Linked DNA regions of Homo sapiens: region 1 is linked to region 2. The links are contacts of gene promoters, found by promoter capture Hi-C in blood cells and fetal thymus (Javierre and others, 2016). All regions are on one chromosome and are shown on one strand. Each heading gives the region's core, a stretch centred on a gene start or on the middle of the fragment in contact. The rest is flanking DNA. Distances are from core to core; before and after follow the strand shown. Region 1 holds the start of PSMD1 (proteasome 26S subunit, non-ATPase 1). Region 2 holds the start of ITM2C (integral membrane protein 2C).

Region 1 (6,959 bases), core at 1,938-4,437, 190 kb after region 2:
GTAGGGGAGCGAGCCTTGACGACAGAGACACGAGCAGGTACAAAGGGCAGTGAAAAGGTACATGGCCACGTGGCCACTCTGGGAGCTTCAGGGGTTCAGGATGGCTGGAGTGTGGCACGCCAGAGCCACACTCCAGCCACATGAAGACAGTCCCACCATCCTGGAGGAGAAAGTCGTGCTCCTGTTGGTTCTGATCATGCTCCTGGCTGGCTGTGAAGAGTGGACTGAAGCCTTCTGGGGCTGTAAGCAGGAAGTCAAGGCTGTAGGAGGCTGTCGTGGTCTGGAAAGAAGAAGGAGAGGCAACTATTGGGTAATGGAGTGAGGATGGGAGAGGTCGGTGTGAGAGATTAAAGAGGAGATCTGGTGCTGACTGTTGTGGGAGAAGAGAACAGTCAGATTTCCGTTGCAGTGGCTGATGGATGTCCTTCACCCACACTGAGGTCAAGGAAGGAAACACACAACTGTGGGACGACAACAGCGTGCACAACTTTGAGGTCACTGAGTTGAAGGAGCCTATGACTCTGCCAAGCAGAGATGCCCAGGAAGTGTGTGAGTCTGTGCTCAGGAGAAAGCGCAGGGCAGTAGAGACACATTTTATGAGCCACCACCTTGTGCACAGCAGCCAATGGCATTTCACTCTTACAGGGGTTGCAGGGAGTGAGAAGAAGGCCATGGACAGAAACACAGAAGAAAGACACATAAAAAAAATAGAATCCAAGATGGGGACTGAAGATTTGAAGGAGCAGAAGTAATCAGAGTTGAGTTTCGAAAAGATTGCTCTGGCTAAAGAATGCAGAATGGACTGGAGAGGGAGAAGCCACAGGCATGGGCCAGTCACTCAGGAGGGAGAACAGAATCCTCCCGGGGGGAGAAGTCTGATGTCTGTGTCCAAGCTACTTACCTTTTGCCCATCTCACAGGTTCACGTGAGGCTCACATGGGGTTGTGGCAATGACACACACAGCATCCAAGTGGAAGACAGGATTGTCCTCTCATACAGAATGACTTCTCCTTGAAGAGCAGAGGTGGCATGTTGACCACCTCTCTGTTTTAAAACATGTTGAATTAGTAGCCAACATGTAAAATTCTGGAGATGTTGCATGAAATTCTGATTTCTGGCTTCTCTTAGAAAAAACATGTCTTCCAACAGTCACCCTGCATTCTTGGCAGGAACTGAGTAGCAGTTGCTCTGTTTAGCAGTTGCTCTCTTTAGATGGGGCACTCACTTTTTTTTTTTTTCTTTTTAGACGGAGTCTCACTCTGTCGCCAGGCTGGAGTGCAATGGTGTGATCTTGGCTCACTGCAACCTCCACCTCCTGGGTTCAAGCGATTCTTCTGCCTCAGCCTTCTGAGTAGCTGGGACTACGAGTGCCCGCCACCACACCTGGCTAATTTTTGTTTTTAGTAGAGACGGGGTTTCATCATGTTGGCCAGGCTTTGGTCTCGAACTCCTGACCTCAGGTGATCCGCCCACCTCGGCCTCCCAAAGTGCTGGGATTACAGGTGTAAGCCACCGCGCCCGGCCAGGAATTCACTCTTCATCACTGTCCCCACCACCCCCTAGTGCCTCCTTGACACTGTTAGTTGCCATTCACCATCCTGTGGAGCTTGTATTTTCTTTCGCTGGTCCTGCTTTACTCATTTTCATTACCTGTTGGCATTTGTTTGTGACTCCTCTAGGGGTTTGGGGAATACAACTGTCTTCATGTGAGGGCTTGGTAGAAGTGCCTCTGTAGAGCCAGGTGCAGTGACTCACATCTTTAATCCCAGCATTTTGGGAGGCCGAGGCGGGCGGATCATGAGGTCAGGAGATCGAGACCATCCTAGCTAACATGGTGAAACCCTGTCTCTACTAAAAATACAAAAATTAGCCGGGTGTGGTGGCATACACCTGTAGTCCCAGCTACTTGGGAGACTGAGCAGGAGAATCGCTTGAACCCAGGAGGCGGAGGTTGCAGTGAGCCGAGATCGCGCCATTGCCCTACAGCCTGGGTGGCAGAGGGACACTCCATCTCAAAAAAAAAAAAAAAGAAGTACCTCTGTAGAATGACACCCCAAGTAATCTGTTTACTTTGCATGCACATCTTCTCGAGCCCTGCCTTTCAATCTGAGCCACAGGCTCTTCAAAAATGTTCAATAATTATATTTAATATATTTTAAACAACCACAGTTTAAGAATTCTAATTTAAACAAAAAAAGTCACAGATACAACAAAATGTGTTATCAAGCACATTTAATTCACTGGCAACCACAAGACATTGATTGTGCCCCTAGGTTACGTAGAAGGCCGTAGAAATGAACTCGCCATCGCTGTGCGATTGAAGAGTTTAGCTTGATAGTGCAAGGCCGGTGGCTGAAAAAAATGCTACCGTTTGCCCTATTCCTTGTCAAGACTTTCTCAGTACTGACTCTTGAAATAAATTGACTTCTTGAAGCTAGCATAAGACTGCAAATGGCCATTGCAACTGCCATTTCAAATTTCTGAAGATGTATTAGAAACGAAGAACCCACTGCCGTCGGGGGAAAGAGGACCTGGGCAGATAGAAGGAAAGAATGGAAGACATTTTTTCTCCCTTGGAAAGGCTTTCGCCATATAACTACTGCACATTTTAATATATTGACAACACTGGACATTTTTCCAAAAGTAAGTAAAAACCTTCATTGTTCAACTTTATAATAAGCCAATGATTACTTGTGGATTCATTATGATAATAAAGCACTTCTATGGGGATTTTCTTTTTTTTATGATAGGTTTTGCTTTAGAAAACAATTGAAAGCCACTTTTCTGGGAAAAAAAACAAAAAACAAAAAAAAACGCTGTTTGCGGCAGCCCCAATTCCCTAAGCATTATCTGGTGGGAGATGTGTTGCAGCGAGACCTCCCACCAGTAGGTGGCACTGCGCGCAATGCTCGCACCTCCCCTCAACACCCTTTCTCTCAGCAATGGCGGGTGATGGTGGGGGTCCTCTCTTTGCAGGGCTGGCCATTCTAATGCCTGACCTCAGGTGCAGACCAGTGTTCCGTTGCGCGGGACTCCTGACCTCGAGGAGGTTTAGAGAAAACAATGGTGTTCTCTGTGTACCCTTCCGCGAGGGCTGGGGAGTATACCGCCGCGCAGAAGACGCAGGCCAGGGGAGAATTCGCGCCGGGCGGCAGGCGGGGTGGCGGGCAGCCCCTGGGCGGGCGGGGTCCTGGCGAGAAGCGAGCCGGCGGCCTGAGGAGGCGACTGACTGAGCAGCGCACCCGGGGAGCAAGGAGGCGCGGTGAACTGAGCGGCCCCTGAGCTGACAGATACACTGCGCAGCTGGAACGGCGAGCGAGCCGACGGGCGAGTGAGGGGCGCAGCCATGATCACCTCGGCCGGTGAGTGCGGCCCGTAGCCAGCGCCTGGAGGGAGGAGCCGCCGCCGCGCCGGCTTTTAGCTGAGTCAGGGCCGGTGACTGGGCGCCTCCCGGCGGAACGCCGGCCTGGGCAGCTTCTTGCTGCCCAGGGCCCACCCCCGGGCCGGGGGGCTGGGAGTCTGATCAGGTCACTGCGTGCTTCTCTGGCTTGAGGGAATCGAGCCGGGTCGACCGCCTCGGCATCCCTCCCCAATCACACCCCAGCGCCAGGACCCGAGGGGCTTCCTGGGCCTTCCCCTGACCCCAGAAGGGCTTACCTTTTTTCTGTGCCTCCCATTCTTGGCCGTGTGAGGTCGTCCAGCCCCAGTTCTTGCCCGCAGGGGGCCGGGGTGGGATGGGCCCCTGTGCCATTGAACAGTAAGGCAAACCCCCCTGATCGGGCAGCCTAACTGCTACAGAAGTGTTTCTGGACGTGGCCGAGCTCCATTCGCCTTAGAATGAAACCCGAAATTAGGTTTGAGGTGGGTCATTTCTGGGTCCGATCCAAGGGTGTTCATTCAAAACACCCAGAGAACTTTTGGGTTCGGCGAAGACCCTAAAGACGCCCTGGAGATACCTTTATACTGAGAGCCTACTTATACCCTTTCGAGGTTATGTGCTCAGTCTGTTGACTGTACATTCAAGAAAGAATGGATGGATCTGCGGAGCAGGTTTCATACGCGCAAACCATTGCATAGGTAGATTCACGTAGTGACATTTGCAATGGAGTAAGTTACAGAGATCAAGTTTCAATTGGAGACTTAAGCTCCCCGTTACAGATTGACTTGCATATAGCTGTCCAGAGCCTTGGTGCTTTTTTCCGTTGCCTATTTACATACCCTTTTCTCATTTTCTTACTCTGTGTTTGACCCACAAAGAAAGCATTTTATTGTAAACAAACTGGTGAGCAGAAGACAGTAATCTGAATGGTAAGGCGATCAAAACTTTATTTTTATGAGGATTGGTTAAGGAGATCGTTGGAGATACTGGGAGACGTAGTTACTTTCAAACATTTGAAGAGCTGTCACTTGTACCTGAAATAAGACTTTTTGTCCCCAAGAGATACAAGTGATCGCGAGATGAATTTTAGTTCAGTATCAGGAAGTTTTTCCAGTCAGAGCTTTGTAAAGATCAAATAAACACTCAGTTTCTTGCCACCTATAGGCCTCATTCTATTTCAAATCCATCCATTACCAATGTTTCTTCTAACTCGGCCCAAACCACCTTCATCTCTTGTCTGGGTTACTATATCAGCCTTAAGGCTTTGTTTTCGACCATTACCTCCGTACAGCCCGTTTTTCTTGTGGACTATGCTTTTTAAAACTTTAATCACATAATACTTCTTTGCTTACAATCCACCAGTGCTTACATTGTGTTTAGAGCAGCCGTGTCCAACCCTTTGAATTCGAGGACTTTTTTTCTTACTGTGGTGGTCGGACATCGTGAAAATTATATACAAACCTTTTTTTTTTTTTTTAAGCTCATTAGCTATCATTAGTGTTAGTGTATTTTATGTATGCCCCAAGATACTTCTTCCATTGTGGCCCAGGGGAGCCAAAAGGTTGGACACCCCTGGCATACAGTAAAATCCAGACTCTTAACCAAGGACCCACATGATCTGATTCCCGCCTTGTCTTGTAGTACTGTCTTCACTCAATACATCCTAATCACACTGGACTTTTTGTTCCTTGGATATGTCAGTTTCTCTCCTATCTCGGGGCCCTGGCACATTCTGTTCCTTTCTAGTCTTCTCTTCCTCAGATTTTCCCTTAGCTTCTCAATCTTTTGTCTCAACTCAAATGTTATCCTTCCCTGATCATTCTATTAAAACACGCTTACTCTCCCTCCACCACAGCTCTGTAATTGCCTTGTTTGTTTACTTGCCTGATCACTGTCTCTCTCTCTCTCTCTGGTAGAATTTTGAGCAGGAAGCTTGTTTTCACAATTCTAGAATACTGCTGAGAGCATGGCAGAAATTCAAAAGTATGTCTTGACTGAAGAGCTCAGTCAGCCAGTCAAAGCAATTAATCAGTCCCTTGAGTTTTTAAAGTAGAGGCGGAAAAAGCACTTGGTGACAATATAATAGACTTTAAGCCTCTTTAAGGTGGCAAAACTAATAATTTTTGAGGTCCTATCCTGAGATTCTGTGATGATCATATAGTGTATATTTATTACTGCCATTTAAGTTTATTGGATTACTTGTCAACTTCTGTTCCAAATCTTTTGTCACTTTGTTTTCTGTCCTATGGCTCATGTTGGCTTAGAATTTGTCCCAGGTGCTAAACAGGCTAGTCTCATGGTTCTGGTGTGGATTAGTCAGTTTGTTCATTCATTTATTGACCAGGCAGTTGCTAGGCATCACCATACAGTGGTGAATAAGAGGTCAACATGTTCTATTAGTTTTTTCCAAGAGGTTTGACTATGCAGGGGAATGGAGAGAGAGAGAGAGGTGCTTCCAGGCGGGAGATGTGAAATTGAGTGGGTTGGTGTTTTCTTTTTTAAACATAATACAGACACATAAAGGAAAGTTGTGCTAAAAAGCTTTAAAACAATAGTCCCCCACCTCACTTTCCCTTTCCTGATCCCCAGAGGCAGGTATTCCCAACTTTTAAGCTGTGTCTTCTGGAACATACCTCCGTATTTGTAAATAAATATCCAAATATTTCTGTCAATTGATTCAACAGTTTTAGACCAATATCTGCTCAGTTCCTATAACGGCATAAGAGGCTTTTAGCATCCTTAGGCCTTTCCCATTCTCTCCCCTCTCCAGAAGAGAGTTCTGTTTTGTTTTTAAGATGGGAAATACTAATGTATGGAGTGTAGAGTATTTGATTTAGTTCTGGTCCATGGCCAGAGGCTGAGTTTCCAAGCCAGGACAACCATGTAACCAGTTAGTCATAAGTGAAACCAAACCAGAGAATATAAAAATCCATCTCCCTTTTTGGTAAAAGCCGTTCAAATACATTGACTGAGGATAGGTAGCAGTTTTAGTATTAAGTGTTCTGTTATTTAAGATCTGTTCTACATTTAAAGCATTCTGGCCTGTCATCTTACTCCACATCACTAGTTTGCAATTTTTTCTTTTTCACTGATTGAATTTTGAAATTTATCTGTTCCCTGTGCTGTCCATTCAGAATCTCTGTTCTGGACTTGTCATACCAACCTAGAGTACCAAGAGGTTCTTTATATCTGCTTTTATGCTACTTTAGTTTTGCTTGGTAAATTTTGTATCTTTTCCTGTGTGGCTTCCTAAAGATTGCTTAAGCTATTTGGCAAACCTATACTTGTCAATTAGAAATGGCTACATCTAACTAAGTTGCCTTGACACTTTTTAATCAAACCACAGTTTCAACTCGGTGTTCTGGAATGATTTTAAAACCCACATGGAAAGCATTTGAGAGTGGTTTCCTTTGTGGTCTTAGTACAATAATTTCCCATATCATTTTTCCAATAATCCCTTTGACCTTTGACTATATTTCAAGGTGTGTTCTTTTGGAGAGGACAATTATTCCTTTTACTCTCCTATGTTAGTGGTAATACCTTGAGGCTAAGAGAAGCCATATGGAGAACACTGTGCTTG
Region 2 (6,601 bases), core at 3,147-5,646:
CCAGAACAGTGGTTGCCAGTGGTGGTGGGGATTTACTGGAAAAGAATGGGAAGAAATTTTCTGGAATTATGGAAATGTTCTGTATCTTGATTGGTTTGTTGGATACATGAATATATATCTTTGTAAAATAGTTTTTCATTTTACCTAAAATTTTTTTTTAATTACCTTCAACACTTAGCTTTCAGCTAGCTCCTCAGTGGAAAAGAGGGGCCTCTGAAGGGGGCAGGTGGAGGTAGGGGAGGTGGAGCTGAAGATAGCTGCTGCTCTTGTCAGAAGAACAGGATCTCAAACTCACCCACTCCCTTACTCAGAGCATGTGATTGATGGAGCACACTTCTCCTTGAGAAGAACTCTGAGGACAATGGGCACACCCTTGTCTGAGCCCGTTACATTTCCAGAAAGCTAATCTACTGACCCTCTATGGATTTGTTACAACCATAAGTCTTACATAACCAGTGCTTTAAATTGTAATAAACTAGATATCTTTGCAAACAACATTCAACTTCTAAATTTTGAGAAACAGGCAAATACATGTAAAAGTTCTCATTTCTGATTTTATTTTAACTAGAGACGGGGATCTCGCTATGTTGCCCAGGTTGATCTTGAACTCCTGGGCTCAAGCAATCCGCCCACCTTGGCCTCCCAAAGTGCTAGGATTACAGGCAGGAGCCACCGTGCACAGCCTGAGATTTTATTTTCAAAGTGAACTGTTGCAGGATTGATTCCAACAGCCCTTCCCACTGGAGCCAATCACACCAGAGTTGATGAGGGAAGGGAAGAGTTAGTGGAGAGGCCTCAGCCAAGAGGCTCAAAATCAACGCAAGGAAGATGAGGACTGAAAAGCAGCTTGGAGATTTCAGCCAGGTGGAGGTGGAGGAATAGAAGCCAGATTGAGGTAGGATGAGTGTAGGGAGTGATAAGGAAATGGAGACTGAATTTTCAAGAGGTTTGGCTAAGAAGAAGAAAAGATAAACAGGGTATCAAGTGGAGGAGGACGTGGGGTCAAAGAAGGGGTTTGTTTTTGTTTTAAGGCTAATACGAGCATGTTTCAGAGCTGACAGGAAGAGCTGAAAGGTTAGGAGGCGGGGGCTGATGGATGTCTCAGGTGTCTGATAGGAGGGGAGGGGTGGAATCCTCATCTAGAGAGTGGCTGGAGAGAAAAGACAGACGCCTCTTCCGCGGCGAGTGGCAGGAGGAGCAGTGGGCAGAAGGGCAGCTGTGGATGGGGGCGGATGTGCTGGCAGGCAGGAGGGCGTTCTTATGTTGATAGACATAAGCCACCTAAAGCCATGGCTTCCAGATCCTCAGCAGCTGAGCTGCTGAGAGGTGTGCAGCAGTCTGGAGAGGGCAGGATGTGGCCGTTGAGAGTGTGGACAGAGTGACAGAGCAGCAGTTCCCAAACCCGAGTGTGCATCAGAATCACTAAGGGCTTGGTGGGCACAGAACACACCCTGAGTTTCGGAATAGACATAGAAAGGGTTTGCCTTCCTAACAAGTTCCCAGGTGCTGCTGGGGCTGCTGGCCGAGGTCCTTGCTTGGAGAATGACTGGTTAAAGAAGCCACAGCTGTCCCACCCTGCAGCTCCAAGGGGACCGCTTTGCATGGCTGCCACCATGCCCCTCCAAGAGGAGGTAGCATGCTGGTCCCAAGGGGCATGATGGTATCACTTTCACCAACAGAACTTAGCAGTCCCTGAGCAGAACCTGGAACCAGAAAGGGGGACAGGAGAAGCTCTGCCACTTGGGTAAGATGCAAGAACAGAACAAAGAGGATTCAGGTGCTGGCAGGAATGGCTGTTGGACTGAGCTGAGGGCTCCTGGCCCAGAGTCACTCTCCTCACTCCCAGTGCGGACTCTCATTTCCCTGTCACTTGTCCACACCCTGTGTCTTTCCAGTTCCCACCCAAATCTCCTGTCTTGCATGGAGCCTGGGCTGCACCACGACCGCATTCACCCTGCTGTCCTTCCCTGAGTCCACAAAACTCAGTATGCGACATGGACCTCCCGCAGCCTCCTGGCTCCCCTTGGATTATTGACTGGCTATACTGTACTCCATCAAATATAAGATGCTATCACTTGTGAAAGACATTACTTAATCACTGCCAATTATAATTGTAAAAGATATCTTGATTCTCAAGATGTTAAAATGTGAAGAAATGTGTTTCTTAGAATCCATGGAATATGGATTCTTGAGCATCTGAACAGGTGATCTGCAGAGCATGGTGCCCCCCAAGACCCATTCAGGGGGGTCTCCAAGGTCAAAACTATTTTTTGCAACAATATAAGTCATTATTTGCCCTTTTCACTCTCATTCTCTCATTAGCGTGCAGTGGGGTTTTCCAGAGACTACATGTGTGATGACATCGCTTTGATGCCCAATGGAATATATGTATTCTTGTGTCTTAAAACTTTCTGAGTTTTAGTTTCTAATATGGTAAATGTTGATAGACATAAGCCACCTAAACAAAAGCTCTTGGGGTCCTGAAACCAAAAAATTTAGGAATCACTGCACTAGGTTGTACGCCCAGCACTTGGCCGGCATTGAGTCCATGGTCAAGCGTAAGGAGAGGCCCGAGGGGGATGTGCACAGTGCTGAAGGTGCACAGGAAAGGGACTTATCCCAGCCGGTCTGGGAAGGCCTTCCAGGGGAAGTGGGGTGCTCGCCTGCCAATCTCAGGCATGTGGATGCTTCACCCAGGTGGCCCTGTCTTGCTGACCAGAGATTTGTGCCAAACCAGCTCTGCGACCCTGGGTTTAGTCATGCTACCTTCTATCACTATTAACATGAGGCTAATGTGTAGGTCACAGAGGCTGTGATGAAAATTAAATAATTGAATGCACGTGAAAGAATGCCACTCATAGAAGGTTTCACATGACCACATCCTTGGTGGCTGGGTTGTGTCTTGGGCATCTCTGTTTTCTGCCACAGAGCTTAACACAATGCTTGGCACACAGGGGTGCTTGGAAAACACTGAGTGAAGGAATGCATGTTGGGGGTGTGGCCTAAGCAAGACGTGGAGCTTGCCTTCTCCAGACACCAGGTTTCCCATGGGATCTGGAGCAGGTGATGAGCGGTAGTCCATAACACCTTCCTCTCTGGCTCTGTGCCAAACCAGATTCCTCCTCGTCTCCTCCAAACCATCTGTCTTCTTCCACCTCCCCATTCCCTCCCCCCAGTTCCCCAGGCTGGTGGCCTTAGCATCAGTTAGACTTTCTTCTTTCCCCACCTGTCTGTCCTCAAGGTTGCTAGGTTCATCCAAGATCTGAGCCAAGAGGTCCGGGTCTGGGACGTGGGCGCTAAGGGCCCAAGGCAGCTGCAAAAGACCTGAAAGGTGAGAAGAGAGATCAGTGGAGGACCCCGGACTGTCCTCAAGAAGCGGACGGACTCCCCTGCCCTCCACTGGCAGCCCAACAGCAGAACCAAAGCGGACCACTCAGCACAACCTGTGTGTGTTGCTGGGCGCTGTCCCTGGCCCAGTCTGGACCAGGAGCAAAGAGGAAAGATTCAGGGCGTTAGTGCCAAGAGCAGCCATCCCAGCAACAGAAGCCCCTGCTTCCCCAGTACCCGTGATACTTGGGAGGAGCAGAGTCTTGAGTGGAACCCGAGCCTCTGACACCCGCCCTGGGGGTCTTCCCTCCACTCTCGCCAGGGTCCTCCTGGATGAGTGAGACAAGGGCAGTTCAGGAGGTCACCCAATAACTGAGGTCGCAGCAACACGAAGGAGCCAGGGAGCAGGGGCGGCCTTCCCTTCTCCACTCCAGGCGGCTCCAGCGTGCACCCCAGGACCCCCCAGGAAGGTTTTGCAGGAATAAAGAATGAAGGCAGAAGCAAGATGGAGGATGAAGGAGGCGTGGATGGCTTCAGAAGGCAAGACGGAGGCAGCAGTTTGGCGCCTGTCTCAAAGCCTCCTCCCCGCGCCAAGGACAGGTCGGAGGAGGGGGGCGTGGGGACAGGTAGAGCGGAGGCTCCAGCGTTTCTAAAGGGGAAGACCTGAAGTGGGGCAGGAGAGACGGGTGAGTTGTCTGGAAGCTGCATTTGCCTGGCAAACACTGGGTTAACAAAGACTTGCGTTGCGGGGATGCTGGCCTTGGACAGGGAATGCGAAGGGATTATGCTACGGAGAACGGATCCGAGCGTGACGGCTGAATGAATGAGTGAGCGAGTGAGTGAGTGAGTGAGTGAGCGAGCGAGTGAGTGACTGTGCGAGCGAGCGGCAGAAGGAACTCCGACCCGCCCCAGGTGCGGAGCGGCGCGCCCGGCAGGGGTCACTGCGGGCCCCGCGGGCGGGAAGGGGGCGCAGGCGCGGCGGGCGCCGGGGCCCTCCCGCGGGGACGGGGCGGGGAGGGCTGGGGGTGGGGTTAGAGAGAGGGACGCGAGCGGGATCCAAACTTCCGGTGCCTGCAGAGCTCGGAGCGGCGGAGGCAGAGACCGAGGCTGCACCGGCAGAGGCTGCGGGGCGGACGCGCGGGCCGGCGCAGCCATGGTGAAGATTAGCTTCCAGCCCGCCGTGGCTGGCATCAAGGGCGACAAGGCTGACAAGGCGTCGGCGTCGGCCCCTGCGCCGGCCTCGGCCACCGAGATCCTGCTGACGCCGGCTAGGGTGAGAGGGTCTGGGGCTCAGGCGGTGGGGCGGGGGACCCAGGCTCACGACCCAGGCGCGCCCCGTCGGCCCTGGGGACTGCCCGAGGCGCGTCAGGGCCCCAGAGCCCGGGGTGGAGCAGGGTTGGGAAGTCTCGAATGGTTGCTTATCCCAGAATGAGGAGGGGGCTTAAGTCCCGTACTAAAGCGGCAGCCAAAAGCTGAAGTCCGAAGAGTGGGAGGCGTCTGGTTCTGGTCTTCAGGTGGAGAAGTGCTCGAGGTCTCTTCCAAAAGTGGGGGCCCCCTCGCCGCCTTATAGGGGGAGGGGGCTGGTCCGAAGAAGTTCGAGGAATGTTGGTGGGGGGGTACGCGTCTGGTTCCAATCAACTGGGAAAGCCGCGAGTCGAGTCCCCAGGTGGGGGATGGGAGGAGGGTTAGACGTAGTTTTTCCAAAGTAGGGCGGTGGGACCTGATTGGCTGGGGAATTGGGGGTGGGGGGGTCTGGTACCAACGAAGAGGGTGGGGCCGTTGATTTCCTCCGAAATTGGGGGCTGCGAGGGACAGAGGATGTGCTGCTGGCCTGCACCGGAATTGACAGACCAGAAAGTGATGAAATGGAAATCAGCCAGAACCGACGGCGCTGCGGCCTCTGGACGTCGGGGGTCCGAGGCCGGGTGCCCCCTTCCCACCCCACGCCCTGCCGTCTGGGCCTCCCTGCTCCCCTCTCTTTTCTCCATTCCCAGCCTCTCGCTGGGCTGTCCCCCGACCCCACGGGGAGGGCTCCCAACTGCCCCAGTGCCCTTGCATCCTGGGTCCCCGGGCTCTGTGCGCGTTCCCCCACCCCTGTCATCCCCCTCCCCTACCCCGGCTTCCTCCACTTTCCCTCTGGCCGGGGGGGAGAGAAGGCATTTCCGCCGTGGAAAACTGTCTGAGCTGCGTGCCTTGTGTCCGGGAAGGGCCCGCAGGGGGCAGAACGCGTGGCGGGCAGGGACAGGGAGGGAGGGAGAGCTGGCCCAGCCAGGTTTTATTGTGCCTGGCAAAGGTGTCTACGTGGGCGCCGCCCCCAGCGGTCTTGTGGCTTACCAAGCCCATGTCCTCCCCGCCTCCCCACCCCGCATTGAGGCAGGACTGAGAAAGTCTTTGTCCACTGCTTCCCCACTTCCAGATGCAGGCTTCTGAAGAGTCTTCCTGAACGCCTAGCCCCCTCCCCAGGTTTTGTGGCTCAGGTTCAGTCTTGCCTGGGGCATTAAGGGGCCTGCAGAGGATGACCTGGACCCTGGAGGAGGGGGCGCCGGAGAGGGCCGTCAGAGTTGGGTGTCAGCCTGGGCAGAGACCCTGAGTGAGGAATGCCAGGAGACTGAGAACCCCCTGCCCTTTTATGGTGGTCACTGCAGCAACCAGTGGCTCAGAGCCACAAGAGTTCAACAACCACCTAGGCGAGGTTGGGGGTTGCTGTGCACCCCATGAGAGCAGCTCCCCCCTTTTCATCTGAAGCTTAGGTGGAGGGGGCGCTCCATATTTGAAGAAGATGGTTCTGCAGCTTTAAAAGTTTGCAAGGGGTTCTTCAAGACTCCTTTTCTTTGGAAGGGAAGCTGCCCTCCACTCAGCCTGGGGAGGGGCAGGGATGGGGGCAGGAGGCAGCACGCTTGCCCATCTCTTTTCCTAGCCACCTCTTCCTGGAGATATTTGAGGAGGGAGGACCAGGTCAGACAGTGGGAGGGTGTTATTCCAACTCCATCAGAAGGTCCCCCAGATTTTGCAGGAGCGGCACATTCTCCAGCCGCAGCCTGCTGATGGCATGGGTTTGGGCAGTCTGACAGAGACCTGCATCTCGGGGCATAACTGACATCCTAGCTTCTGGCTTCTCATCAGGCTCTGAAATTGAGCGTCCTTTCTTCCCCCTCACCCAGCATGAAATGGAAATATCAACATCTTCCTGCGTGCTGTTTGTAATGGCCTTGAGCCTGCTGAGTACCTCCTCCCTCAAACTTTGTCAGTTGGGCAGGGTCCCCTCCCTCTCTAA

Evidence for each region. The method cuts DNA at HindIII sites, captures the fragments that hold promoters and counts their contacts. A CHiCAGO score of 5 or more calls a contact.
Region 1: a contact is called between the fragment with the promoter of PSMD1 here and the fragment with the promoter of ITM2C in region 2, in 2 of 17 cell types (M1 macrophages and fetal thymus). The highest score is 6.1, in M1 macrophages.

The regions. Positions count from the first base shown.
Region 1 is chr2:231,053,680-231,060,638 of GRCh38, forward strand. PSMD1 (proteasome 26S subunit, non-ATPase 1) reads left to right here and starts at 3,188. Exons shown (of 25, transcript NM_002807.4): 1 at 3,188-3,362. The coding sequence starts at 3,347. LOC112268432 (a long non-coding RNA gene) reads right to left here and starts at 4,067. Exons shown (of 2, transcript XR_002959456.2): 1 at 3,658-4,067; 2 at 1-280. RefSeq lists a silencer at 3,089-3,278. The HindIII fragment of the contact is 9,212 bases long and covers 1-5,309 here.
Region 2 is chr2:230,860,546-230,867,146 of GRCh38, forward strand. It overlaps ITM2C (integral membrane protein 2C), which reads left to right and starts at 4,397. Exons shown (of 6, transcript NM_030926.6): 1 at 4,397-4,600. The coding sequence starts at 4,481. RefSeq lists enhancers at 1,345-1,955, 3,081-3,739, 4,398-5,056, 5,057-5,713 and silencers at 4,147-4,516, 4,617-4,706, 5,497-5,596. The HindIII fragment of the contact is 7,451 bases long and covers 1-6,070 here.